Regions from separate parts of the Homo sapiens genome. Here all the other regions are linked to region 1. The links are contacts of gene promoters, found by promoter capture Hi-C in blood cells and fetal thymus (Javierre and others, 2016). All regions are on one chromosome and are shown on one strand. Each heading gives the region's core, a stretch centred on a gene start or on the middle of the fragment in contact. The rest is flanking DNA. Distances are from core to core; before and after follow the strand shown. Region 1 holds the start of HAUS8 (HAUS augmin like complex subunit 8). Region 2 overlaps NWD1 (NACHT and WD repeat domain containing 1). Region 3 overlaps NWD1 (NACHT and WD repeat domain containing 1).

The links. The method cuts DNA at HindIII sites, captures the fragments that hold promoters and counts their contacts. A CHiCAGO score of 5 or more calls a contact.
Region 2: a fragment that was not itself captured here is called in contact with the fragment with the promoter of HAUS8 in region 1 in 1 of 17 cell types (endothelial precursors); the score reaches 5.9 in endothelial precursors.
Region 3: a fragment that was not itself captured here is called in contact with the fragment with the promoter of HAUS8 in region 1 in 2 of 17 cell types (M0 macrophages and monocytes); the score reaches 6.1 in M0 macrophages.

What each region holds. Positions count from the first base shown.
Region 1 is chr19:17,074,071-17,078,260 of GRCh38, forward strand. HAUS8 (HAUS augmin like complex subunit 8) reads right to left here and starts at 1,382. Exons shown (of 11, transcript NM_033417.2): 1 at 1,324-1,382. The coding sequence starts at 1,352. MYO9B (myosin IXB) reads left to right here and starts at 1,707. Exons shown (of 40, transcript NM_004145.4): 1 at 1,707-1,804. RefSeq lists an enhancer at 1,125-1,324 and silencers at 1,505-1,854, 1,849-2,143. The HindIII fragment of the contact is 21,850 bases long and covers 1-3,843 here.
Region 2 is chr19:16,731,646-16,735,835 of GRCh38, forward strand. The region is part of intron 3 of NWD1 (NACHT and WD repeat domain containing 1); the gene reads left to right. Among named protein-coding and RNA genes, the nearest start is that of NWD1, 14 kb to the left of the region's middle. The HindIII fragment of the contact is 457 bases long and covers 2,079-2,535 here.
Region 3 is chr19:16,790,887-16,795,076 of GRCh38, forward strand. It overlaps NWD1 (NACHT and WD repeat domain containing 1), which reads left to right. Exons shown (of 19, transcript NM_001007525.5): 14 at 464-736; 15 at 3,577-3,667. Among named protein-coding and RNA genes, the nearest start is that of SIN3B, 36 kb to the right of the region's middle. The HindIII fragment of the contact is 2,909 bases long and covers 699-3,607 here.

The DNA.
Region 1 (4,190 bases), core at 132-2,631:
ACCCTGAGATAGGAATCGCTGACTCATCAGCTGTGGGGGTGCAGGAGAGGGAGAATCTGGGATGACTAGGGGTTTCAGGGTTTCAGCCTGAGCTGGTGAGAAAAGAAGGGATCCAAGAACAGACACCAGCAACACAGGAGGGGCAAGTGGATGGGCAAGTGGAGGGGCAGGGCCAAGGCCAGGGCACTGTAACTCCTGCTCCCATCACCAAAGGCGGCTCCACTGGTCCCTGCGGCCACCTCCTCTGAAGCAGGCTCCCAGGACCCCAAAGTGAGACCCAGACAATGTTGGGGACACTTCCAGGCCACCGTGGGGAGAGGCAACTTAGCAAATGTTCGCCAGGTGCCAGCAGCTGCGCTCGCCCGTAGGCTCCTCCTAACCCGACAGCTTCCTAACTGTTCACACCTGCTTTTTCGTCGCTGCAAAACAAAGACGCACAGGTTTTACATAGGTCACCCCCGGGGCAGTCTCACAGCCAGAAAGAGACAAGAGCACAGACTCCCTCTGGGGACTGTGCTAGGGCTGTGGCCTCAAACCGAATGGGCTCCTGGGTGAACCTGCTGCGACCTGAGGGGGGTCCCTACAACCTGTGCGAGCCTCAGCTACTGCACCTGTACCTGGGAGGTGCTACTGTCAATCTATCGGTTACGGCAAGGGGCGGTGGAGTGATTCCTCTTGCTGGCCAATTTCACTTCAGTTTGCACCTGGCACAATCAACACTGGCAGAATTAACAAAACTAGACAAATATAGCCTCATGATCATTCATGCCTAGCTCTCGGTCAGTATTCAACTTCTTTCTTGTTCATGGTGTGTTACCCTAGGCAAGTCACTTCCCCTCCCTGGGTCTCCATCATCTCCTCAGTAAACTGGGAGCACAGAATAAAGCGCGTGGGAGGATTAAAGGGGACACTTTGGTCGCCCAACACTTGTTCACTGCATAACGATAATTCCAAGAGCGACATCACAGTAAAGACCCAGGCGCCGATCTAAGCGCGTTTCAGCCTCACGCGACGCCTACGAGGTTGAGCTGCGTCATCGGCCCCATTTCGTAGCGGAGGAAAGCGAGGCACTGGGCGGTCAGGCCGCTTGCCGGAGGTCGCCCAGCGTCCCAGCCGAGGACGCGGAACTCAGGGCCGGTCGGGTGTCAGCGCTCCGGAGCATGCGCAGAGGCAGCACGCCATCGGGGTCTTCAGGGGCCCGCGCAGTTCCTGGCGGGGTCGAACCCGAACTCACCCCGAGGGTCCTAACTCCCCACCTCCGCTGCCCATCCTCTCCAGCCCTATGGCGTCTACAAATCCAGACCTGCGGAAGCCCCAACTCACCCAGCGCCTCGCCCCGAGGAATCCGCCATTTTCCCGCCTTCCACCTCAAGGCCCGACCCGCCGGCTTTTCAAAGCCGGACCCGCCCCCTTGCTTGCGGGTCGGACCATTTGTGGAGACGCAGGAGGGGTGGCTGCGAGGCGTGAGGCAGCGCCGGCTAAGTGTGGAGAGCGCGGCCCCAGACGCGCGCTTCGCCTGTCCTCCCCTCGCACTTGGTCTCGCCCACCATCGGCGGTAGTGGGTAGGGGCGGTGGGTGGGACCTGATCTGTCGGACAGTAGGGGCGGGGCTTTTCGCGATGCCCCGCCCCTAGGAGCGCTGGCGTCACGCCCCCGTCCCCGCCTCTCCGGAACCCGGAAGCGGGAGCGCGCGGGGGAGCGGCGGGCGCGGCGGGGCGGAGCGGCTCGAGCAGCGGCGGGCTGGCAGGCGGTCGTCCGGCCGGGGACCCGGCCCGGGACCGGCGGCGCGCGGCGGCCGAGGCCAGGTGAGTACCAGGCAGCCTCGGGTTGGCGACTCGAGCTCGAAGCCTGCCTTTGGGGGCTGCGCAGAAGAGGGACGGAGCTGAGGGCTGATGGGGGACGCGACGGCAGGGGTCGAGGGGGCGGGAACGAGCCTGGGGGTCTTGGAGAGATTGCTGGGGATGAGGTGGAAGCGAGACGGTGAAGGAGAAAGTGGATGGGGATGGAGCTGGTGAGGGAGTTCGAGGGCGTGGGGGGGGTGAGTCTTGTGGCTTTGAGCAGCTTCTCTGAAGAGGACGTGGCTTAAGTGGTAATTGGGGGGTCGCAGGAAACGGCGTTGTGGGGAGGCACGGAGGCGGGAACGAGAGGCCCAGGCTGGGGGAGTGGGCAAGGCCAGGGGCGGGACAGCCGGGGTGCGGTTGAGGGGAAGGGGTGCGAGACCGATCTGGGGACGTCTGCCCGCGCGATTGAAGGAAGGGTGTCTGAGAAGAGGGCGGCGCCTGGCCCCCAGTGGGCGCTCAGTAAATGCGGGGGGTTCTGAACTAACTGATGCGGCAGCCGGCTATTGGGAAGCGGGGAAATGGGAGCTGGAAGGGAAGTAAACGGAGTAGAAGTCACGGTAAGAACTGAGGGTAGGCTTAGGGAGGGAGGGCCCGGAGAGGAGGGAAGAGAAGGAAGGGGTTAGAGTGGCCCCGTGCAGATAGATGTTGAGATGCAGCCCCTGGAGATTCCGTCCCCCCACCCTCCCCTCTTGATTCGTGTCCCTCCTGACTTCACACTTAACAGCTGGGTGACCTGGGACGAGTCCCAACACCCTCTGTGCCAGTGTCCTCGTCTTGGAAACTTCACCACCCTCCCCTTAAGACAGGACTAGCAGGATTCTGGGATTCCCTGGATCCAAGGAAGGGACCTCAGGGCCGGTTGTGGGGCCGGAACTGTGTTTCAGGAGGGAGTGTGCATGCACCCTCATGTACAGGACTGTCGCCACCTCCGCAGAGCTGCATCCTTGGACTTAAATGGGTAAAACGACATACAGGAAATCTGTCCCCCGGTTGCTCTGAGCTCAGCCCTGGAGAGGCACGACAGCCACGAGCCCTCCTTTCTTTCCTGGGCACCCTGGAGGCCAGGGGTCTTTAAGGGATGGCTTCTCTGCCTCTTTGTCTGAGGTGGGAGCCCGTGGGGACACTTTCCAGCCAGAGAGTCCCAACTCGGTTTGTTTTTTGATGTTGGAGTCTTCAGAATCTTAAGGTGTCCAGGAGCAGCCGGAGGTGACCTGGGCTACAGGAAAGTTATTCACATCTGACAGGCCTGGCTCTTGTGGCCCTGGCAGGGACTTTGTGCAGGGTGCTTTTGATTGGCATTCATTTCTCCCCTTTCCCAACTGTAGGGATCTTTATCTGGGATCTGCCAGAAGGGCTGGGGAACCCCAGCTTATGTTTAGTTTATAGCTCATTCAGGAGATGAACCCGGATAGCTGGAATATAAAGAGGGCCACAGAAAGATAAGCACCCCCTTCACTTCCAGAATATCCTGGCCTTTAGGAAAGGTGGCTTTGGCCTGGCTTGCCCCAGGACATGCAGTGACAGCCCACAGTCATGCCTCCTGCAAACATTGAACTGTAGGCTTGCACTGGCCTACAGAACAGGACCGGGATCTTCTGATCCCGCAGCCCTGCAATCGCCTCTTCCCTGCCGCTAGAGAATGGCCAAGCAGGGTCTTGTGGGGGGAGCACTGTGTTGGAGATCCTGGCTTTGGTCAAGTCTCTGTGCCTGTTTCTGACCTCTCACCTGCAAAATGAATGAATTGACCTCCATCAGCGTTTTTCAACCTTGAAACCCAACTCTTCTCATCACCGTCTTGTCTCCAGTCCATGTCCCCCAGCTCCCGGCCTTGAACTCCTCACAGCACCCCCACTCTCCATTCCTGGCTGCGATGATCCTACTTTTATTCCGTTTTCCATTCGACAGTTTGTATCCAAAAATGATTTTTTTTCAACCGCTTCTTCATCGTCCAAATAGAAAATTGCGGTGTTGAAGGTGCTTTTGCACATTGCACCTATTCCCAAAGCTTTGGAAACTGCAAATTTCTGGAAATCCCGAGGCAGTACCGTCCCTCGGGTCCAGTCTGGTGACTCAGTGGAGCAGGTAGAGACGTGGGAATCTCCCCTTTCTGTTTGGCTGTAGGATTCGTTATTCTCTCCCCACATGGACTTGTTAACTTGCTGCTTCCCATTCCTCATCTCTTCCAAATGGTGTGTCTTGGGTGGGCCTAGATTTCAGTTAGGCAAGGGTTGATTGTGCCAGACACTTGGTAGATTCCTGGGGACAGAGGTGAATCCTTATGACCCAGAGGACGGACACGCTAATGCCCGCCCCCGACAACTTTGCACTTCCTCTTCAGAAAGAATGGAGT
Region 2 (4,190 bases), core at 1,057-3,556, 340 kb before region 1:
CCAGGCTGGAGTGCAATGGTGCAATCTCAGCTCACTGCAACCTTGGCCTCCAGGGTTCAAGCGATTCTCTCGCCTCAGCCTCCTGAGTAGCTGGGATTACAGGTGCCCGCCACCACGCCCCTCTATCCATACTCTTTTAATGCTTTACTGTTGAGTTTTAAAATTCACAGTGATTTTTAAACAAAGGTCCCACATGTTCTTTTTGCACCGAGCCCCGTAGATTCTGTAGTTGGTCCTGGAGATCTGGCCCTGGAGATAAAAATCCTTGGGACTATAAAAAGGCAGGTGGGACTGGGCGCGGTGGCTGACACCTGTAATCCCAGCACTTTGGGAGGCAAAGGCGGGCAGATCGCTTGAGGTCAGAAACTCGAGACTAGCCTAGGCAACATGATGAAACTCTGTCTCTACTAAAAATATAAAAATTAGCCGGGCGTGGTGGCTCATGCCTGTAGTCCCAGCTACTCAGGAGGCTGAGGCAGGAGAATCGCCAGAACTTGGGAAGCAGAGATTGCAGTGAGCTGAGATCAAGCCACTGTACTCCAGCCTGGGTGACAGAGTGAGACTCCGTCTCAAAAAAAAAAAAAAAAAAGGCAGATGGAGGGGTTACAGCCATGTGCACCGTGCTTGGTTAGCATGGCAGGTGGTGTAGAAAAGTGAGTAGGAGTGAATGCTTTTGAACACAGATTCATCGCTGTGTCCCTTGCAGTGTGACCTTGGACATGTCATTTAACTGTCTGTTGTTGTTGCTGCTGTTTTTGTCTTGCCTTCAGAGCTTCCTGGCCCTCTTCGTACTGGGCTTCAGGAGGAGTATAAGAGGGCTTTGCGATATGGGGGATGGGCATGGAGGTTGGACATGCCTTTTTCTAGAACGCTGATGGTGTACCTGTTTGGCACAGTCCCAAAACAGTAGGAGCCCCTAATGCTGTCTCCTTGTACCAATCCCTGGCTAGGGAATTTTTTTTTTTTTTTCAGATGAGGTCCAGTGGATGACAGAGCAAGACTTCATCTCAAAAAAAAAAAAAAAGAAAAAGTGAAAAAGTGCAGTGGTGTGATCTCACAGCTCACTGCAACCTTGAGCTTCTGGGCTCAAGGGATCCTCCTGTCTCAGCCTTCTGAGGAGCTGAAACTACAGACATGCAGCGCTATCCCTGGCTAACCGGGGATGTTTCTGCCTGCACATTTCCCTGTGGAAACTGATGAACATCTTTGGAGTCTCAGCTTAACTTGAGGGCTGCCTCCTTGCTGCTTATGAGAATGATTCATTGCACCAAAGTCCCATTTGGTTAAAAGATGAGGCCGGGCACAGTGGCTAACACCTGTATTCCCAGTGCTTTGGGAGGCCAAGGCAGGAGGATTGCTGGAGGCCAGGAGTTTGATACCGGTCTGGGTAATATAACAAGATCCCGTCTCTATAAAATTAAAAAAATGAGCTGGGTGTGGTGACGCCCACCTGTAGTCCCAGCTACTGGGGAGGCTGAGGTGGGAGGATCACTTGAACCCAGGAGTTTGAGGCTGCAGTGAGCTGTGATGGAGCCACTGCACTCTAGCCTGGGTGCCAGATTGGGATGCTGTCTTTAAAAAAAAAAAAATCTGGGCCGGGCGAAGTGGCTCATGCCTGTAATCCCAGCACTTTGGGAGGCCAAGGCGGGTAGATCACCTGAGGCCAGGAGTTCGAGACCAGCCTGGCCAACATGGTGAAACCCCCTCTCTACTAAAAATACAAAAATTACCCAGATGTGGTGACACGCACCTGTAATCCCAGCTACTCGGGAGGCTGGGGCAGGAGAATTGCTTGAACCTGGGAGGTGGTGGTTGCAGTGAGCCGAGATAACGCCACTGCACTCCAGCCTAGGCAACAGAATGAGATTCTGTCTCAAAAAAAAAAAAAAAATCAAGTGGCTCTTTGGGTAAAAAAGAAAAGAAAAGGAAAAAGATGCATGATCGTTATGGTTTGTATATTTATTACTAAGAAAGAAGCAGTGCTGGAAATTCCACTCTGCCCACCATTGATCATGAGACATAGTTCAATGTCAAAGGCACTATGGAAGCATCAGCACTGAGAGCTGATGAAATGGTCAAGCTTTTCTGTTTAATGCCCATGCCCGTCCTCTGACGCGGATGCTGTCAACATCCTCCACACGCACATCGGGAGACGGCGGTCCCTCCAGAAGCACAAGCTCCTTCCAGAGGCTGGCTCCTGACCCCTTTTCCTTTCCTGCTCCTCTAACTCATTGTTCCTCCCCCTTTCTTCCTCCAGTCACATTGAGTACTGCTGGCCTCTCACCACTTGTCTTAAGAATCTATGTGTCTTTCTCTCGGTGCTAAAGAATTCAGGGAGGCAGGGACTGTTCCGAGTTGTCTTTGTCTCCCTGTCACCCCAGCCTTCCACAGGGTCAGCTTTGCCTACCTGAACTGAGCTGTTCTGCCCAGCCTCCCCATGGCGAGCAGGCACAAATGAACTGCAAGCGTGCGGTTGCCAAGGAGACCTTGGTACGTCCAGTGCTGGCCAAACTAAACACCCTCCTTTGCAAGGAAAGCTTTGTGAACAAGTGTGGACACGTCCTTGCTTTCAAAGCAACAGTTTGAAAATGGCCAAGTTCCTTTTTTAAAAAAGCTTTTCTGTCAGGGCGAGGTGGCTCATGCCTGTAATCCCAGCACTCTGGGAGGCCGAGACAGGCAGATCACGAGGTCAGGAGATTGAGACCATCCTGGCTAACACGGTGAAACCCCATCTCTACTAAAAAATGCAAAAAATTAGCCGGGCATGTAGTCCCAGCTACTCCGGAGGCTGAGGCAGGAGAATGGCGTGAACCCGGGAGGCGGAGCTTGCAGTGAGCCAAGATTGCGCCACTGCACTCCAGCCTGGGTGATAGAGCAAGACTCCATCTCAAAAAAAAAAAAAAGATTTTCTTTCTTTTTTTTTTTCTTTTTTCTTTTTCTGTTTTTCTTGCAACAGGGTGTCGCTCTGTCACCCAGGCTGGAGTGCAGGCATGCAATCACAGCTCACTGCAGCTTTCTGGGCTCAGGTGATCCTCCTGTCTCAGCCTCTCAAGTATCTGAGACTACAGGCACACACCACTACACCTGGCTATTTATTTATTTATTTATTTATTTATTTATTGTAGACACAATGTCTCCCTATATTGTTCAGGCTGGTCTCAAACTCCCGGCCTCAAGAGATCCTCCTCCCTCAGCCTCCCATAGTGCTGGGATTATAGGGGTAAGCCACTTTGCCCTGCCTCTGTTCTAATTTTTTTATTTTAATTAACTTGCTTTTTTATTTCTTAATTTTTATTTTTTTAGAGATGAGGTCTTGCTACATTGCCCAACCTGGTCTTGAACTCCTGGGTTCAAGCAATCCTCATGCTTCAGCCTCCAGAGTAGCTGGGATTATAGGCACATGCCACCGTGCCCGACTAAATGTTTATAAATAAACTTCTGAATTTGGAATTTAGGCTTACAGGAAACGCATGGACAGTACGGAGTTCCCATACACCCCACACTCTGTGTCTCCTAACGTTTTACCTAACCACAGCACAACCAACTATGTTGTTACAACTATGAAATGAACTTTGAGGACAGGTGCAGTAGCTCGTGCCTGTAATCCTAACATTTTGGGAGGCTGAGGCAGACAGTTCACTTGAGATCAGGAGTTTGAGACCAGCCTGGCCAACATAGCAAAACTTTATCTCTAATAAAGATACAAAAAAATTAGCCAGGCGTGGTGGTGCACGCCTGTAATCCCAGCTACTCGGGAGGCTGAGGCAGGAGAATTGCTTGAACTCGGGAGGCGGAGGTTGTGGTGAGCTGAGAGTGCACCACTAAGCTCCAGCCTGGGTGACAGAGCAAGACTCTGTCCCCCTGACCAAAAAAAAAAAGAAAGAAAGAAAGAAAGAAATCAGTCTGGGGGCAGTGGCTCATGCCTGTAATCCCAGCATTTTGGGAAGCCGAGGTGGGTGGATCACCTGAGGTCAAGAGTTCGAGACCAGCCTGGCCAATATGGTGAAACCTTATCTCTACTAAAAATACAAAAAATTAGCCAGGCATGGTGGTGTGCGCCTGTAGTTCCAGCTACTCAGGAGACTGAGGCATAAGAATCGCTTGAACCCATTAGGCAAAATTTACAATGAGCCAAGATCATGCCACTGGAAGGAAGGAAGGAAGGAAGGAAGGAAGGAAGGAAAGAAGGA
Region 3 (4,190 bases), core at 903-3,402, 280 kb before region 1:
GTGAGGCCTGGCCCACCTCTCCTTTTTTTCTCTGAATTGGGAGTGTTAAAAATAAAATGCATAGGCCGGGTGCAGTGGCTCACACTCATAATCCCAGCACTTTGAGAGGCTGAGCAGGGAGGATAGTTTGAGCCCAGGAGCTCAGGAGCAGCCTGGGCAACATAGTCAGACCCTGCCTCTACAAAAACAAATTTAAAAATAGCCAGGCATGGTGGTGCGTGTCTGTGGTCCCAGCTTCTTGGGAGGCTGAGGCAGGAGGATTGCTTGAGCCCAGGAGGTCGATGCTGCAGTGAGCCATGATTGCACCACTGCACTCCAGCCTGGGTGAAAAAGAGAGGCTCTGTCTCCAAAAGAAAAGAAAATGCATAAAGTATACAAGAGAAGGCATCTTGCATTTGACTCCGGGAAACTTGTAGTCTAGGTCTCCTGCCAAGATGCTGCTTCCTCTTCATTATTCTATTAGATCAATGCTTGGAATCTGGAAACTGCAGAGCCGGTATTCCATATCCTGGGAGATGCCTCTGATCCTTGGATGTGCATGGCCGTGCTGGCCTCCCAGGCCACACTGCTGACAGTGTCCAGGGATGGTGTGGTCAGTCTGTGGAGCTCAGCTACGGGAAAACTTCAGGGGAAGCAACATATGTCCAGCATCAAAGAAGAAACACCTACCTGTGCCGTCTCAGTCCAGAAGCAAGGAAAGCTTGTTACCGGGTTTAGCAATGGCTCCATCTCTTTGGTAAGCACCTTTACTGACTATGATGTGAACATTAACTCAGCTTGAAAGTGCTCAGATGTGCTAGAAGTTGGGAAAAATAATCTTGCCTTGTATCTTTGTTTTGTTTTGGAGATGAAGTTTCACTTTTGTTGCCCAGGCTGGAGTGCAATGGTGTAATCTCAGCTCACTGCAACCTCCGCCTCTCGGGTTCAAGCGATTCTCACTGCCTCAGCCTTCCGAGTAGCTGGGATTACAGGCAAGTGCCACCACGCCTGGCTAATTTTGTGTTTTTAGTAGAGACAGGGTTTCTCCATGTTGGTCAGGCTGGTCTCAAACTCCCAACCTCAGATGATCTGCCCACCTCGGCCTCCCAGAGTACTGGGATTACAGGCATGAGCCACCGTGCCCGGCCACACGCTTGGCTTCTTAATCGTAGGGATTTGCAGTTCAGCACAGTTCAGGAAACATCTGTTGGCGTCTCTTGGGGACTGACCAATGTGGGCAATTGTTGAAGCTCAGTCCTTCAGGGGATCTCTAAGACATGGTGTGGAATGAGGTTGAGAGTTGCGCCACAGAGGGACTAGGAGTTGGGCTCTATCCACCTGCCCTGTTGGTGGTTGGTGGACGGCTGCTTTCATGGACATTAACATATAGACTGGCTGGGCGCTGTGTCTCACTCCTGTAATCCCAGCACTTTGGGAGGCTGAGGGGGGGTGGATCATTTGAGGTCAGGAGTTCGAGACCAGCCTGGCCAACATGGCAAAACCCTGTCTTTACTAAAAGTACAAAAATTGACCAGGCACGGTGGCTCACACCTGTAATGCCAGCACTTTGGGAGGCCGGGGCAGGTGGATCACCTGAGGTTGGGAGTTCGAGACCAGCCTGGCCAACATGAAGAAACCTCATCTCTACTAAAAAAGCATACAAAAAATTAGCCGGGCGTGGTGGTGAGCACCTGTAATCCCAACTACTTGGGAGGCTGAGGCAGGAGAATTGCTTGAACCTAGGAGGTGGAGGATGCAGTGAGCCAAGATTGCACCACTGCACTCCAGCCTGGACATTAAGAGCAAAACTCCATCTCAGAACAAAACAAAAAACAACAGCAACAAAAACAAAAGCCCAAAAATTAGCCGGGTGTGGTGGTGGGTGCCTGTGATCCCTGCTACTAGGGAGGCTGAGGCAGGAGAATCACTTGAACCCGGGAGGTGGAGGTTGCAGTGAGCCGAGATCATGCCATTGCACTCCAGCCTGGGTGACAGATCAAAACTCCATCTCAAAAAAAAAAAAAAAAAAAGAAAGGAATCATGGTGGTGCATACTTGTACTCCCAGCTACTTGAGAGGCTGATGTGGGAGGATCATTTGAGCTTAGGAGGTGGAGGCTGCAGTGAGCCAAGATTGCACCACTGCACTCCAGCCTGAGTGACAGAGCCAGGCCCTGTCTCAAAAAAATTAAAAAATAAAAAAAAAAAGAAAAGAAAAGAAGAAGAAGAATCATCCCAAATCCCAAAGCTCCACATTTCTGAACCTCATGACCTGTGGTCTTCATGAGTTCTCAAGGTACCAAATACAACAACGAAAGATACTCCCAAATCCTTGGGGTTGTTTTTCTTTTTCTCAAGCCTCTTTGCAGATATTTTGTTTTGTTTTTTGAGACAGGGTCTTACTTTATCTCTCAGGCGGGAGTGCAGTGGCACGATCATGGCTCCCTGCAGCCTCGACCTCCCGGGCTCAAGACGTCCTCTCGCCTCAGCCTCCTGAGTAGCTGGGACTACAGGCGCATGCCCCCATGCCTGGCTAATTATTATTATTATTATTTTGTAGAGGTGGGGGTCTCACTATGTTGCCTAGGCTGGTTTCAAACTTATGGGCTCATTCAGCCTTCCAAAGTGCTGGGATTACAGGCGTGACCCACTGTACCTGGCCAGAATTTGTTTTTTACCTTTTTTTTTTAACTGTTTTTTTGTTTTTTGGTTTTTGGTTGTTTTTTTTTTTGAGACTGAGTCTTGCTCTGTCGCCCAGACTGGAATGCAGTGGCGCAATCTCGGCTCACTGAAACCTCCACCTCCCAGCTTCAAGCGATTCTCCTGCCTCCGCCTCCCCAGTAGCTGGGACTACGGGCATGTGCCACCACGCCCGGCTAATTTTTGTATTTTTAGTAGAGATGGGGTTTCACCATGTTGGCCAGGATAGTCTCAAACTCCTGACCTCGAGTGATCCACCCACTTCGGTCTCCCAAAGTGCTGGGATTACAAGCATGAGCCGCCACACCTGGCCAACTTTTATGTTTTTAATTTAAAAAATTTTTTAGAGACAGAGTCTCAGTCTGTCACCCTGGCTGCAATGCAGTGGCACAATCATAGCTCACTGCAGCCTCCAACTCCTAGGGGCACAAGTGATCCTCCTGCTTGAGCCTCCTGAGTAGCTGGGACCACAGGGGTGTACCACCATGCCCAGCTAAAATTTTTATTAAGAGATGGAGTCAGCTAGGCATGGTGGCTCACGCCTGTAATCCCAGCACTTTGGGAGGCCAAGGTGGGCGGATCACCTGAGATCAAGAGTTTGAGACCAGCTTGGCCCACATGGTGAAACCCCATCTCTACTAAAAATACAAAAATTAGCCGGGCATGGTGGCAGGTGCCTGTAATCCCAGCTACTTGGGAGGCTGAGGCAGGGGAATTGCTTGAACCCGGGAGGCGGAGGTTGCAGTGAGCCAAGATCATACCACCGCACTCCTGCCTGGGAGACAGAGTGAGACTCCATCTCAAAAACAAAAAAAATAAAAATTAAAAAATTAAAAAATTCCAGACTTGTAACCCTTAACCCGTGGAAGTGCCTGACAGGCATCCCTGGTTCTGCACAGGTTTCCTCCAAAGGGGACAGATTGCTGGAGAAGCTTCCAGATGCTGTGAGGTTCCTGGTGGTCTCTGAAGATGAGTCCCTCCTCGCCGCAGGTAGCGTTTAGCTCTCATTTGGAGTAGTGAGGAAGCTAATCAGGATCAGGTTGGAGAAGGGGGTGGGGCTTGGGAACAGAGAGAAGTCCTAGGGCCAGAGGTTAGCAACGTTTTCTGCCAAATGGCCTCATAGTAAACATTTTTTGCAGTCCAGACGAGACAACCTCAGTTGCAAAGACTCAACTCTGCAGTTGTGGTACATAAACTAGCATAGACACTATTTTTCTATTATTTTTCTTTTTTTTTTAAATAGGGTCTTGCTGTGTCACCCAGACTGGAGTGGAGTGGCTCAATCATAATTCATTGCAGCCTTGAATTTCTGGGCTCAAACGATCCTCCCACGTCAGCTTCCTGAATAGCTGGGATTACAGGCACACACCACCACACCCAGCTAATTTTTGTATTTTTAGTACAGACGGAGTTTCACCATGTTGGCCAGGCTGGTCTCGAATTCCTGACCTCAGGTGATTCGCCCACCTTAGCCTCCCAAAGTGCTGGGATTACACAGGCGTGAGCCATTGCG